4 separate regions of the Homo sapiens genome follow, and regions 2, 3 and 4 are each linked to region 1. The links are contacts of gene promoters, found by promoter capture Hi-C in human tissues and cell types (Jung and others, 2019). All regions are on one chromosome and are shown on one strand. Each heading gives the region's core, a stretch centred on a gene start or on the middle of the fragment in contact. The rest is flanking DNA. Distances are from core to core; before and after follow the strand shown.

The links. The method cuts DNA at HindIII sites, captures the fragments that hold promoters and counts their contacts. A contact is called where the count stands out against the background at its distance.
Region 2: a contact is called between a fragment that was not itself captured here and the fragment with the promoter of ZNF879 in region 1, in 1 of the 25 tissues and cell types used here (hippocampus).
Region 3: a fragment that was not itself captured here is called in contact with the fragment with the promoter of ZNF879 in region 1 in 2 of the 25 tissues and cell types used here (dorsolateral prefrontal cortex and mesenchymal stem cells).
Region 4: a fragment that was not itself captured here is called in contact with the fragment with the promoter of ZNF879 in region 1 in 1 of the 25 tissues and cell types used here (thymus).

What each region holds. Positions count from the first base shown.
Region 1 is chr5:179,021,684-179,025,445 of GRCh38, forward strand. ZNF879 (zinc finger protein 879) reads left to right here and starts at 2,121. Exons shown (of 5, transcript NM_001136116.3): 1 at 2,121-2,221; 2 at 3,287-3,354. The coding sequence starts at 3,322. RefSeq lists an enhancer at 1,749-2,250. The HindIII fragment of the contact is 17,237 bases long and covers 1-3,762 here.
Region 2 is chr5:178,622,226-178,625,987 of GRCh38, forward strand. It overlaps CLK4 (CDC like kinase 4), which reads right to left. Exons shown (of 13, transcript NM_020666.3): 2 at 1,031-1,191. The coding sequence starts at 1,191. Among named protein-coding and RNA genes, the nearest start is that of CLK4, 2.9 kb to the right of the region's middle. The HindIII fragment of the contact is 5,209 bases long and covers 1-3,762 here.
Region 3 is chr5:178,688,184-178,691,945 of GRCh38, forward strand. It overlaps a transcript of MSANTD5 not described here. Among named protein-coding and RNA genes, the nearest start is that of MSANTD5, 7.7 kb to the right of the region's middle. The HindIII fragment of the contact is 5,435 bases long and covers 1-3,762 here.
Region 4 is chr5:178,762,343-178,766,104 of GRCh38, forward strand. It overlaps the pseudogene AACSP1. Among named protein-coding and RNA genes, the nearest start is that of ZNF354A, 34 kb to the left of the region's middle. The HindIII fragment of the contact is 4,639 bases long and covers 1-3,762 here.

The DNA of each region.
Region 1 (3,762 bases), core at 871-3,370:
CCCTGCCTCAGCCTCCCAAATAGCTGGGATTACAGGCTTGAGCCACCACCCCCGGCCAAAACCTGGTTTTTGCTGACATCATAGAACCACCGATTCTTCTCTAGCCGGAGTCTGCCCCAGTGATTTCTTGCTATTCCTTATTCATTTCAGCCAACTTGAGCAGTTCCATCTTCTGTGACTTGTAGCAAATAACACATGCCAACCTTTTATTCCGTCTTTTCTGGCCACTTTTAGGGGTTCCTATTTATCCTCAGAGTTGTGATATTTCATCGAGGATGTATTTTTTATGGGCCATCCCTACCCTAGCTCATTCATTATGCCAAACTCCCTACATTTTATTTACTCTGAAGACTCAGGGCTTCCTCAGCTTGAATGTGTTTTCTGCTATATCTCTATCACTATTTCTGTATGTAATCAATCTGTTATTATTCCCCCTCCCCATTTTCTCTGCTTTCTTCTGAATCTTTTTATTAGATTTTGGGTATCAGAGCACTTGTCTCCTGCATGTCTTCCAAATGTTTCCTCAATTTCTGGTGTTCTGATGGTATTTTTCTAGAGTTGCATTAGATTTGCTCCTTTGAAAATTATATGTGTTTGGGGTTACTTTGAAGAATATGAAGAGAAAAAGGGAGGTAATCATGGGTACTCAGTCTGGCACCTTTTACTTTGTAAATCTCAATGCTATGTTGTTTTGTCAATAATGGTCTATAACTGTCATATCTTTATTATTATTATTTTAAAATAATAATTAAATATAGAAATAACATATGGTCCAGAAATGGAATTGCCCATGTGTTAATTCTACATTTAATTTTTTTTTGAGGAACTGCCATACCGTTTTCCAGCGCAGCGCTACCATTTTACATTCCCACCATTAAGGCACAAGGATTGTTTTCTGGTTTTCTTTTTTTTCCAAATTTTATAATAGCCAACCTAATGAGTGTGAAATCGCAGTGGATGTTTGATCTGCTTTGATCTGCATTCCCCTAATGATTAGTGATGTGCATTATTATCTTTTAACAATATAAAACATCCATTTTGTTCGATTTAATTATTTTTACATTGCAATAATCTTTGTATTGTTGTAACATCGTGATCCAAGATTTCTTTTTCATATTATCTACCTGATATCTCTTAGTCCCTCTCTGCATTTTCTATCTTCAAGTACCCTTTGTGTTTAGGTTTGTCTCTGTAAACGCTAATGTTTGATATTTTAAAAATCAACACTTTCTGAGCACATAGTATTTGGCGTGTACAGTGCCGGTCACCGAGGATGCAGTTGTGATGATAGCGCTGGGAGTTGGGCTTTATTTTACGTTTTAAAGAAGTCACTTCAAAAGAAGTGAGTGCCATGAAGAGGGAAATACTAGGCTTATGCTTTTGTTTTACTCTGAGTGCCAGTAAATATGTAAAGATTACAAAAATTTATTTATTTATTTATTTATTTATTTGAGACAGAGTCTTGCTCTGTCACCCAGGCTGGAGTGCAATGGCGCGATCTGAGCTCACCGCAACCTTCGCCTCCCAGGTTCAAGCGATTCTCCTGCCTCAGCCTCCCGAATAGCTGGGATTACAGGCATGTGCCACCACGCCCGACTAATTTTTCGTGTTTTCGTAGAGACAGGGTTGCACCATGTTGGCCAAGATGGTCTCGGTCTCCTGACCTTGTGATCCGCCCACCTCGGCCTCCCAAAGTGCTGCGATTACAGGCATAAGCCACCGCGCCCGGCCGAGATTATAAAATTTAGACATAATTCATTTTTAATTAAAATCGCAGAATGGACTGTAATAGTTCTGTCACCACCTGCGAATAATCAGCAGCGGCTAGTCTTCCAGATTTAAAAATTCATACTCACTTTTCCGTCTTACTATTTTTGTCATTCTAATTACGAATACAATGGGTGGTTTAGCGGAGGGAGAGTAGTTGGAGCCCAAGCTGAGGGACTCGGCTTCAGCCTTCTCGAACTCCACAGCCCGACCGCGTTCTCCGCTCTCGGCGCTGTGGTTCTCTCTCGGACACCGTAAGTGGTGGTGCCGCAGCGACGTCTGGGAAATGAAGTCCGGAGGGACAAACGCTGCGGTTCAGCCAGGGAAACCCGTCGGCTCTCCGGCGCGCAGGCGCAGTTGCGCCCGGCAGCGACGGGAAACGTCTCTGAATTAGGTGTTCCGCTCGCCTCTTGTGCGGTGTGGAGCTGCGCGCCCCCCGCCGAGGCGGGCCCAGGTACAGGCTGCCGGTGAGGGCGGGCCCGGGGCGTGCGGCTGCCGCGGCGGGACCAGGACGAGGGCTGGCCTCTGCGCGTGTCTGCCGAGTCCCCGGCTCCGGGCGTCCGAGCCGGGGCGGCCTCGGCAGGTGAACCCGGCCCCGGAGGGGGCGTGGCCTGGGAAGGGCCTGGCGGAGGCCGGGAGGGCGCTTCGACGCCGCTGGACTCCTGGGCCGCAGCCTGGGCCGGACTCCGGGGGAAACGGCTCCAGAACAGAAACTGCAAAATGCCGCCTCGGTTCAGGGTCCGGAGCCCTCCGGGCGGTTTTTCGCTCTTAGTGTTTGTGGGTTTAAGCCTCCCCCTACTCCGTTTCCCGGAGTTTAAACTTTAGATTTACTCGTTTTTGGCAGTCTTGCACGTTTGGCAGTGTTTTCCTACAGCCAGTCCTAGAGTGATTTAACTATTTCTTTTTTTATTTACCGTAACCATGTCCACTTGCTACGTTTCTTCCCATTTCTCTAAATTTTAAATCAATTTCTAGCTAGTGATGCTGTTTTCTTGCGCCCTTGTTTTTTTGGGGCCAGGGAGAATGGGTAACGCTACCTTTAAGCAGCTTTGATAACTGTTTTTGATAAAGGAAGTAAATCTTACAAGAGGAAGAAAAGAGGACTAATTTTTGGTTGGCTGTTCCTAAAAAAGAGCATCAGTTCTTCAACTGCTGTTTTTCGTATTGAACAACATCCAAGTGCAGATGTGTGGAATATTGTGTCATTTCCTATTACTTTATCTGAATGAGCCTTGCCTGATTCTGCCCTTGACCCTGTTAAGGCACGGCAGATGGTCTTCATCCCTTCGCTCCTTTCGTCTTTATCGTAAAGCACTGGCAGAAAGGTAGCAGGCCCGGTGACTCTGAACCTGCTTCCCACACTGGTTTAAGTGGCCGGACTTAGGGCCCCTCTGGCCTGGGCAGTTCCAGGCTCCTTCTCTGCAGGTGCTCAGCTTATGGCTTCTAACCTGGTCTGGCCTAATGAGGGTGGGCATGCAGGCTGGATGAAAAGACCTCACAGCTTTTTTCTCCATTCCAGGTGCCTTCTCCAAGAGAGGCAGCAGGGAGGGAGAAATGGCAAGGAGGTTGCTGCCAGCCCATGTACAGGTGAGTGAAGGCTTCTTTTTGCTTGAACTGCCTTCAGGGTCTAGACGTGGTAAACTTCTTCATCTGTTGTTGAGCTTCTCTACCCAGTGAAGCTCAGGGAAGGACCAGAGGGCTTGGTAGCTGAGAAACTCTGGAAGGAAGGTGTTTCCCTTGCCTCAGAGCCTGTCTCATGCTTTTTTTTTTTTTTCTTTCCCTTTTTTGAGACAGGGTCTCACTCTGTTACCCAGGCTGGAGTGCAGTGGCACGGACATGGCTCACTGCAGCCTCAACCTCCCTGGTAGCTGGGACTACAGGCATGTGTGCCACCACACCCAGCTAATTTTTGTATTTTTAGTAGAGACCAGGCTTCAACAAGTTGGCAAGGCTGGTCTTGAACTCCTGACCTCAAGCAATCTGCCCGCCTCAGCC
Region 2 (3,762 bases), core at 1,098-3,597, 400 kb before region 1:
CTGTACATTAATTATTAATTATCTCTGGTCTCTGAAATCCTGTCATAAACCTTCCCCCTTCCCCTTATATAACAATGCGTATGAAGCATGATTTGTCTGCACTGACTACAAATAAGCTGTTTGGCAGAACAAGTCTGTTAACGTGGAGAAGGAAAGAAATTACATACTGTTTTTTAAAGTAACCCCAGCTGGCTAATTTAGAAAGCAATCTGGTAAACAGTCCCAATGGAACATCTGCACAAAACGAGAAAACAGAACCAACAAAACAAACGAAAAAGGGAAATTAATGAAAGAGTGAAAACTTACCTAGCCTTTCTTTAATCATTTAGAACTTTAAGATTCCTTTAATTCTATATAAATATATTACCTCCAAATTGTACACTGGTAAGAATACAATAAAACAGCACACATGCTGTTGCAAGTTTTTATTGAGGCCATTTCCCAAATTACTAGCTACTACCTATGCAAAAGAATAGTTCTTAAATAAAGCCAGCTTCTAAAAATCCCAAACATATCCCTTGGCCTCATCTACAAATATAACCTGTACGACATGGTATAAGTGACTAATAATACATGCTGCTTTTCTCTGTTGGAATAACTCCTCCCCTATAAAACCCTACCTTATTTCTGAAACAATGAGCACTACAACATACCCATCTCCCTCCTACATACAAGTTAAAGGTACTCATTGGGCATTCTATCACTATTACTTAACTTTTTGTGTGTCATCTCCCTAATCACGTTACTGGCAGTTGGGACTCACCATGTTATTTAATACATTTCACATTCACTTACTGATCAACTGTCTCCTACCACTCCCAGGCAGACAGACATACATAAGGATAAGAACTTTGTTTTATTTACAGCTGTAGCCTCAGCGCCTATCTAAAATAAGTACTCAAATATTTTCTAAACGAATATTTGTTGACTGAATTATAAAACAATTTGACAGATGAAAGCTATATAAGCAAATGACAAATCATTTAAAACTATTAGAGCTAAAATGCTAGTAGTTCAAGAGTTAATTTACCAATCAGATTCTTTAAACTGGTGATGTGGTTTACAATGCCTGTTCTCTTGTGTGCTACTATGAGATCTCCTCTTCCGCTTGTGACTTCCACGATAGCTTTCATGTCCCCAGCTTTCTCTGCTATCCCAATCAGGACAGTGAGTTCTTTTGGAATGCCGCATCTGTTGATAGAAATGAAAAGGGAATTGTGGAGGTTACAGATGTGTGATAGGTAAATTATTATATATTAATATTATTTAAGTTATCAAAACCCAACACACAGGGTCTTACAGGCTCCAAAATCTTTTTAGGTGGTAATGCTTCCCAAGGCACTGGTATGTCAGATGACTGCTAAGAGGCATAGAGATCTAGTATTAAATTGTGGGTAATACTGATACCTTAAGACATTTTTTTTTTTTGAATTCTGATTACAGCCAGGACAAATTCTCAGCTTGGTGCTTGTCTTCAACTAACACTTGCTAACTGCCTTTTTAAAAATTAAAAAAAAGCCGGGGGGGGCAAATAAAAAGGTTCAGGCCTAGTGTTTCCAGCAGACAAGAGTATTTAGCTAAAAATTAGTAACGTTTTTATTTATCTTATTTTGTTACTTTCTACTTATTAGTGATTTTCCAATTAAGTTATTGACATATTTTCTTTTAAAAATGTTAACATTAAAATGTGAGCTGATTTAAGGAGAAATAATATCAGTGTCATGCAGCTTTGGCAAAGTACTGTAATACAAATAACTGAAGTGCAAGACAAAAACACTTAGGGATACTAAATATGGGAGGTGACTTTGTTTTAATGGTAAAGAGCTATTCAATGATGAAGCTTCTTTTTCTCAAATTCTCCATAGTTCTTTTCTCTAAATCTCAGAATGACTCTAAGCTTTGAGAATATTAGTTCTGTGTGGATAGAACACAATATTCAACAGAGAAACTGAAGAGATATAAAAAGGTGATTTTAGGCCGGGTACGGTGGCTCATGCCTGTAATCCCAGAATTTTGGGAGGCCAAGCCCAGGAGTCTGAGACCAGCCTGCGCTACACATAGTGAAACTGTCTCTACAAAAAAAATTTTTTTAAATGTTTATGTGATTTTATGAACTCATTTTCTCTATCCAACAAGTTCATTTTCTTATCCAGCAGTTATTCTTAACCTTAAAATCTATTTGTAGTAAATCTGGAGTAACTCTGAAAAAGAACTCAACCTACAAGGATGCACACTGAAGCATGGTCACAGTGAAAGCAAACGATAACGGTGACAGCTGACTTTATTTACAAACTCCAGTGCATAACCTGGGTTCCTTCCAGGCTCAGCATCTGCGCTCAAACAATATAACCCCTATCTGTCTCTCCCCATCTTAATTATTTTCCAAAACAGTTAAGTTTTAACAGTCAGGTCCAAATTCTCCTAAACAGGGTGAGTTTAAATGGTAAAAAGAGAAGAATTTCACAATTCAGCAAGGAGCTGAAAAAAGCTAAAATGGAGTAAAACCCACTCAGTTAACCTCATTCAGCTTGCCCAAATGACTAATAAGCAAACAAATGCAAGCAGAAATTTAAATGATTTTAAATGGATTAAAGGTTTTGGAGTGAGGCAGCTTCAATTCTTCTGGGAGGTATTCCACAAGAAAGTATGTGTCACGCCATCAGAGTCTGATTGCCACCAGATAGTCAGATATTTTAATTCACTCTCTTGCTGATTCTAATTCTATACCCATCAAGCATCCTTCTAAGGTGGCTCTCAGCTCACTTTACAGAGGAAGAGAAGGCACTGATCAGGCCAAACAGCAATTCTAAAACTCTTGTTAGCGTCTCAATGGAAGTGAGCATTCCGGTTTGATACAAATGGAGTCACTTCCATATGGGAACGTGACATGAATAACAGCACACATTTACTTGAGGCAAAAGGCCAAAACACAAACTTTCTTCATTAGAGCTATCAAGAAAAATTTATGGCTGGACGCAGTGGCGCCTCATCCCTTGAGCCCAGGAATTCGAGACTGGCCTGGGCAACACGGCGAAACCCTGCCTTTACAAAAAATACAAAAAATTAGCCGCACATGGTGACTCGAGCCTGTAGTCCCACCTACTGGGACAATCACTGGAGCCCAAGGAAGTCAAGGCTGCAGTGAGCCATGATCACGCCATTGCATACCAGTATGGGCGACAGTGAGACCCTGTCTCAAAAAAAAAAAAAAAAAAAAAAAGAAAATGTGTATTTCAAGTGCAGTTCTTCTGAAGCGTTCCGTCAAATACCAAAGTTGTATTTTAACCACATCAGGAACTCAGCTTGGTTAAGCATTTTTAAATCATAGCAAGCAAAATCACATCTGATGACCGAGCGTTATTATTATGACCCTCCATTACTATGAAGTTTTTTTCAAGACTTATGTATCTTCTTCAGTTTTGTTTTTTCCTCTTCTACTGTAAGTCTGCTTACAACCAGCTAACCTCCAGCAAAACAGAACTCTCAAATTATCAGTTAATATGCAAACATTAAAATAAGAACGAGCTCCGTTGTGAGAGTCCAAAATTCTTCTCAAGTTCACTACTTCAAATGTAATTCAGCTGTTAGTCCCAGCCTCTGACCTCCCCCACTCACCCTGCAATGTTCAAAAATATTTTATCTGGAGGCACAAAGATCACCCGACCCACGTTCTACGTGGTAAGGTTCCTTCGCATACATAAAAAAGAAAAGCTATCTAGAATCATGACACTGCCTCTAATAAAGCATCCCACATGCTAGAGT
Region 3 (3,762 bases), core at 483-2,982, 330 kb before region 1:
AATACAAAAAATTAGCCAGGTGTGGTGGCATGTGCCTTTAATCCCAGCTACTACTCAGGAAGCTGAGATGGGAGAATTGCTTGAACCTGGGAGGCAGAAGTTGCAGTTAGCTGAGATGGTGCCACTGCACTCCAGCGTGGGTGACAAAATGAGACTCTAAGTAAATAAATAATAAAATAAAGTTATTACCATGATAAAGTTAATTAGCATGCTGCATTAGTCTGTTTCGCATGGCTGTAAAGGAATACCTGAGGATGGGTAATTTATACAGAAAACAGGTTATTTGGCCCACAGTTCTGCAGCCTGCACTAACACGGCACCAGTAACTGCTGGGAGTCCGGGGAGGCCTCAGGAAGGCTTTACTGTTGGTGGAAGGCAAAAAGGGAGCAGGCATGTCACATGGCAAGAGAGGAGGCAAGAGAGAGATGCCAGGCCCTTTTAAACAATCAGATCTCTTGGTAACTAATAGAGTAAGAACTCACTCATGACCTCAAGGACAGCACCAAGCCATTAATGAGGGATCCACGCCCATGACCCAAACACCTACTAGCCCTTACCTTCAACACTGGGGATTGCATTTCACATTATGAGATTTGGAGGCAAATATCCAAACCACAGCACTTACCCAATACTTCCCACACTTACCCCCTCCCTTTTTCGGTGAGAACACTTCAGATCTACTCTCTTAGCAAGCTTCAGTATAAAATATAGTATTATTAACTATGCTCACCGTGCTGTACATTAGATCTTTAGAATTCCTTCATCTTATAACTGAAAGTTTGTACACTTTGATCAAGATCTCTCCATTTCCTCCCCCACCTCCCTTCCCGGCAACCACCAGGTTGCTCTGCTCTCTGCTTCTATGAGTTGGAAATGTTTCTTCTTTTTAGATTCCATATATAAGTGATACCATACAGTATTTGTCTGTCTCTGTCACACTTCACTGAGTATAGTGCCCTCTAGGTTCATTTATGTTGTTGATAGGCAGGACTTCTTTTTTAAAGTGGCTGAATAATATTCCGCTGTGTGTGTATGTGTGTCAAGTTTTCTTTTTATCCATTCACCTGTCAGTGGACACTTAGATTGTTTCCGTATCTTTGCTACTGTGAATAGTGCTGCAATGAACGTGAGATGCAGATCTCTCTTCCAGATCCTGGATACATACCCAGAAGTGGCACTGTTGAATTATGTGGTAGTTCTATTTTTAATTTTTTTGAGTAAACTCCATACTGTTTTCCAGTGAAATAAGACAGTCAAAGAGGTTTTTCCATATCTTGGTACCAGGAGCTTTAACTCAGGTCCAACTCACCGTGGGCCCAGCGGGTCCCGGAACCCATTCTCTGGTCATTTCCCGGGTCCAGATGTGTAGTTGGAACAGACGTGTTCAGCAGCTAGCAGAGTTTCCACACGGGTTCCCTGAGCTATAAAGTGAGGGCAATTGTGATGGGAAAGGACAAATGGAAGGCGTTACAGCCATCTCTACCTAGAAAAATACTAAAACAAAAAACACACCAATACTGCCTTCCTGGAGGAATGATATAGATGAGTGCCATCATCAAAGACTTGAAGTATGGAGGGGTGGTGATTCCTACCCCACATCCTTGTCCAACTCTCCTGGCCTGTGCAGAAGACAGATGAATCCTGGAGAATGATGGTGGATTCCCAGAAGCTTAACCAAGTGATAACTCTAATTGCAGTTGCTGTACCAGATGCTGTTTCATTGCTTGAGCAAATTAACACATATCCTGGTACATGGTATGTAACTATTGATCTGACACACACCTTTTTCTCCATCCCTGTCCAGAAGGCCCACCTGAAGCAGTTTGCCTTCAGCTGGCCAGGGACACCTTCACTGTCCTCCCTCAGTTTAGATCAACTCTCCAGCCCCATGTCACAGTGTGAACCCAGGAGGCAGAGCTTGCAGTGAGCCGAGATCGCGCCACTGCACTCCAGCCTGGGTGACAGAGCGAGACTGCGTCTCAAAAAAAGGTATCGATTTTAAAACTTGATTTTTTATATATGTATATATTGTGCAATGAGCACCATAGTCAAGTCAGTTAACATATTTATCGCCTCACATAGTTAACCTTTGTGTGTGTGTGTAAGATGAGAACACTTAAGATCTACCCTCTAAACAAATTTCAGGTATAAAATACAATAGTGTTAACTATAGTCACCATGCTGTACATTCCATCTCCAGAACTTACTCATCTTGAGTAACCGGAAATTTACACTCATGACCAGCATCCCCCCATCCCCCCACTTCTCCCTCCCTCCAGCCCTGGAAACCACCATTCTACTCTCTTCTATGAGTCTGACTATTTTAGATTCCACATATAAGTGAGAGCATGCAGTATTTATCTTCCTGTGGCTAGCTTATTTCACTTGCAAATGGACTTTATGAAGCTAGTATTATCCTGATACCAAAACCAGAAAAAGACAGTACAACAAAACTGTAAAACAGCATCTTTCTTGAATACTGATGCAGAAATCATTAATAAAACATTACTAATACATCAATAATAGATGAAAAAATTATATGATGGACAATTGATGTACTCCAGAGATATGAGGCTGGTTCAATGTTTGAAAAATCAATCAAAGAACAAAGTAGGAAGAATTAATTTATATGATTTAATAACTTATACAGCTATAGTAAACAAGGGTGTGTGATATTAGCAGAGTGCAGACCAATGGAACAAGGTAGAGAACCCATGACAAGAACCACACAAATATGCCCACCTAATTTGTCACAAAAATGCAAAAGAAATTCAACGCAGAAAAGATAGCCTCTTCAGAGAAGAGCAACTGGACATTCACAGGCACATACACACAAAATGAACCTTAACCTAAACTTCACAAACCTTAATCACAATTTAACTCAAATGTACCAGGGACTTAAATGCAAAATGTAAAACTATAAAACTTTAAGAAAAATATAGGAAAAAGTCAGCCGGGCACAGTGGCTCAAGCCTGTAATCCCAGCACTTTGGGAGGCCGAGGCAGGTGGATCACGAGGTCAGGAGGTCAAGACCATCCAGGCTAACACGGCGAAACCCCGTCTCTACTAAAAATACAAAAAATTAGCCAGGCGTGGTGGCGGGCGCCTGTAGTCCCAGCTACTCGGGAGGCTGAGGCAGGAGAATGGCGTGAACCCAGGAGGCGGAGCTTGCAGTGAGCCAAGATCATGCCACTGCACCACTCCAGCCTGGGAGACAGAGCAAGACTCCATCTCAAAAAAAAAAAAAAAAAAGAAAGAAAAGAAAAAGAAAAAGAAAAATATAGGAAAAAGTCTTCAGGATCTAGGACTAACCAAAGGGTTCTTAGATTTGACACCCAAAGCACTACCCATTAAAATGTTGGTAAATTGTACCTCACAAAGTCTTTTCTCTGTGAAAGCCCATAAGAAGGGCATGAAAAGACAAGCTACAAACAGGGAGAAAGTATCTGCAACACCCATATCCCATAAAACGAATATCTAGAATATATTTTAAAAAACTCTCAAATAATAACAGTAAAAACAAAAATCCAATTAGAAAATGGCCAAAACCATGAAGAGCCATGTCACTGCAGAGGATATGCAGATGGCAAATAGGCATACAACATGCTCCGTATCATCAGCCGCCAGGGAACTGAAAATGGAAGCCATAAGTAGATATCACCGCTTTGTCATGCTGTGCAGAGGGGCCCTGGGCAGAGGCCAGTCCCATCATTCTAAGCTCTGCTAAGGCCCTCTGCGATGGACACTCTGAAGGCCATTCT
Region 4 (3,762 bases), core at 688-3,187, 260 kb before region 1:
CCCACCAACTACATCCCCCAGGAGACCCCAGAAAATGCCTTCTTTACTAAGGTGTTGAGAAATACATTCATGGGGGGAACACCTGCATCCTTAGAAGGTCTGTGGCTTTCTCCTTTGTAGGCCAGGTATGATGGATCGGGGGTGTGGCCACCATTGATGTGAGCTCCCAACAGCAGAAGCCAAGAGGCAGTGCCCAACCTCCAGACGCAGTGCGAGCATGCCCGCCATCACGGACCGCAGCACGTGCCTGTGGTCAGCAAGCCCTGGCCTGTAGGAGGTTTGGCAGAGACTAACTGTCCCAAGGTCTCTGCGACTGAAACAGATGAGAAGCCTGCTAGAACACTGCCTGGGAACTCACCTCACAACAAAGGGAGTGGAGCACTGGGTTCAGGCCCATAGAATTCACTTCAAGGAGAAGGAAAAAAAGCAGAGACACAGACGGCAGCAAAGGCAAGAAACCAGCAGCCCCAGGGAAAGCAGCAAGGCCAGCTTTGTGCTCCATTTGGCAAATTGCTAAGGTAACTGAACAAAATATAACTAATGAACAATTACAGTGAAGTTCATAATTAGCTCCTTGAAACACCTGATAAAAAATATTTCAGATTCTTTTTTAAAACAACCATACTCAAGTGAGGTGAGGAGAGGCCGACCCAGGAATTGGAGAAAGCTATGAATGGTTCCTCTGGTTTGAAAGGAACAAAGCCCCCTAAATCATTATCCAGGTAACAGCACTGGCCTCCCAGAGCTGATATGCTAATTTGAAGGAGAGAGTGAATGTGAGTGGCTAACTCGAGGCTTGACATGTAGTACATGAACAAGAAATACTTGTTCCTTCCCTCCTGTTGGGCAAGAAGTTCACTGAGGGTAGACAATGCCATCCATTACTGTCTATATTCTGTGGGGTTCTCTGGGAGCCTGACACCAAGAGATTCTTAGAAAGTATAGCTAAAAAAGAATTTTTTTTTTTTTTTTGAGACGAAGTCTTGCTGCTCTGCCGCCCAGGCTGGAGTGCAGTGGCGCGATCTCAGCTAACTGCTACCTCTGCCTCCCGGGTTCAAGCAATTCTCCTGTCTCAGCCTCCTGAGAAGCTGGGATTACAGGCATGTGCCACCATGCCCGGCTAATTTTGTATTTTTAGTGGAGACGGGGCTTCACATGTTGGTCAAGCTGGTCTCGAACTCCTGACTTCATGATCTGCCTGCCTCAGTCTCCCAAAGTGCTGGGATTACAGGCATGAGGCACTGTGCCTGGTGAGAATATCCTTGTTTTCAGGAATTCACAATAGAGTATTTAGGGACAAAGGCACATTGTGTGTGCAGTTGACTCAAACCATTTAGAAAAAAAATACACATAAGTACGTGTGTATGTGTGTGTACGTAAGGAGAGAGAAAAGGATTAAGCAAATGTCACATAATGCCAACATTTGGGCAGTTTGAGTGAAGATTATCTAGAATTGTTAGTGCTATTTTTGAAACTTTAATTTGAAATTATATCAAAACACAGAAAGTAAAGGAAAGGAATACAGATACTTGCTTCCCAGTTTCCTCTAGAGCTAGCGGTGGCCATGAGATACAGTTCTTAGCCAATGAGTCGGAGGAGAAGGCTGCTGACAATCTTTCTGGGGAGAAACTTCCCCCTGGTCAAATAAGAACGGGCTTCAAAGAGACTTCTCACTGCACTGGCTGCCTCATTGCTTTAAGTATTTGAGGATGTGGTGCCGGAGCTGCAGCAGCCATCTTGTGACCATGAGGAAAAGCCCAAGAAACTCACAAAGCTTTCCCCATGTATGAGTTTCCGTGACACTGTTGCCCCACTTATGTTACATAGGATCATTCAATTCCTATACTCCTTCAATCCCACTCATCATTCCAGGCCCAGTGTCAGAACCTGTATCACTCAGGACCAGGGGGACAGAGCAGCCCCCATGTCAAACATGACCAAAGGGAAAAGAGAGCTTTGGAGACTCTTACATCAGCAATTAAGACCTGTGACGTAAAAATGATACGTCCCTTCCACTCACAACTCATTGGCCTTCATACAGCACATGGCCCAGCCTTGATTCCACAATTCTTATTCTTGAGGGGTTTTCATGCCTAAGTTTTGCCTCTTTTCCTCAACTATAAATTCCTCATGGTAAGTTTTTAAAGTTTTTAAAGATAATGATGCCCAGAGTTTTCTCCCAACTATTAAAATCATCACCTGAAGTCAGGAGTTCGAGACAAGCCTGGGCAACACGGTGAAACCCCATCTCTACTAAAAATACAAAAATTAGCTGGACAAGTGGTGCACACCTGCAATCCCAGCTACTCGGGAGGCTGAGGCACGAGAATCTCTTGAACCTGGGAGGCAGAGGTTGCAGTGAGCCGGTATTATGCCGCTGCACTCCAGCCTGAGTGACAGAGTCAGACTCTGTCTTAAAAAAAAAAAAAAAAAAAAAAATCAGAATCCTTAGGAGTAGGGCCTAGAAATCAGATTTTACAATTCAGGTAAAACATACATTTATAGTCCACAGCAAAAATTTTAACTGTACATCTCAAATATCTTTATTATGGTAAAATATACATAACGTAAAACTTGCCACTCCACCCATTTTTAAGTGTACAGTTCAGTGGCATTAAGTACATTCACAGTGTTATGCAAAAGTCACCACCATCCATTTCTAGAAACTTTTCATCATTCCAAACTAAAACTATGTACCCATTAAATATTCACTCCCCATTCCTTCTCTCTCCCCTTCCCTGAATAAGCTCTGGTCTACTTTCTGTCCCTGTGAATGTGACTATTCTGGGTATTTCATGTAAGTGGAATCATACAGTATTTGTCATTTTGTGACCAGTGTCTGTCACGATAATGGGTTCAAGGTTCATACACATTGCAGTGTGTGTCAGAACTTCATTCCTTTTCGTGGCTGAATAACATTCTATTGTAGGGACAGAACAGTAACCATTCATCAGCAAATGCTTGTGTTGTTTCCACCTTTTGGTGGTTGTGAATAACGCTGCTACAAACATTAGCTTACAAGCATCTGCTTCTGTCCTTGCTTTCAGTTCTTTTGGGTATATACCTAGGAGTGCAATTCCTGGCTCACAGGGTAATTACATGTTTAACTTTTTGAGGAGCCACCAGTGTGTTTCCACAGCAGCTGCCCCAATTTACATTCCCACCAGTAAGGCACCAGGGTTCAGTTTCTCCATATCCTCACCAAAGCCCAAGTTTTTGCTACACATATATGAACTCAAGTAACCACCACGTGGATAAAGACATCTAACATTTCCTGCATCCCAGAAGGTACCCTCATGGAAACCGGTATTGTTGCAAGCTCCCCAGCAGCCAGGGTCAAGAACCACGTCTTAAACTTTTAGGGGTTCTATCTCTGTCAAGGTTGGCTAACTCTCAACCTAAGAATAAGCCTCAAGTCTGAAGATGGAACATTAAAAATGACATTGTCACCTTGACAGAGTGGTTAATAACACCCCAGCGGGCCGGAGCCCATCAATCATGGGCTGCTGCCTTCTGTTTCGAGAGCTGAGGAAGACACCAAGATGGAAAGGAGGGAGGCAGCACAGGACAAGCTGGAGTGGCTGCCTAGGCACAGAAATCCCATACCACGCCTCCCCAGGCCTCTCCCCAGACTGGGAACAATAAATCTAGCAGCCAGATAGAAGCACTGCCCTCCCTGAATTCAATTTGCAAGGTCAACCAGGCCTAACAGAATTGTGACATCGGCGTCGCAGTCATTTACAACCCACTCTTGCCGTGTCT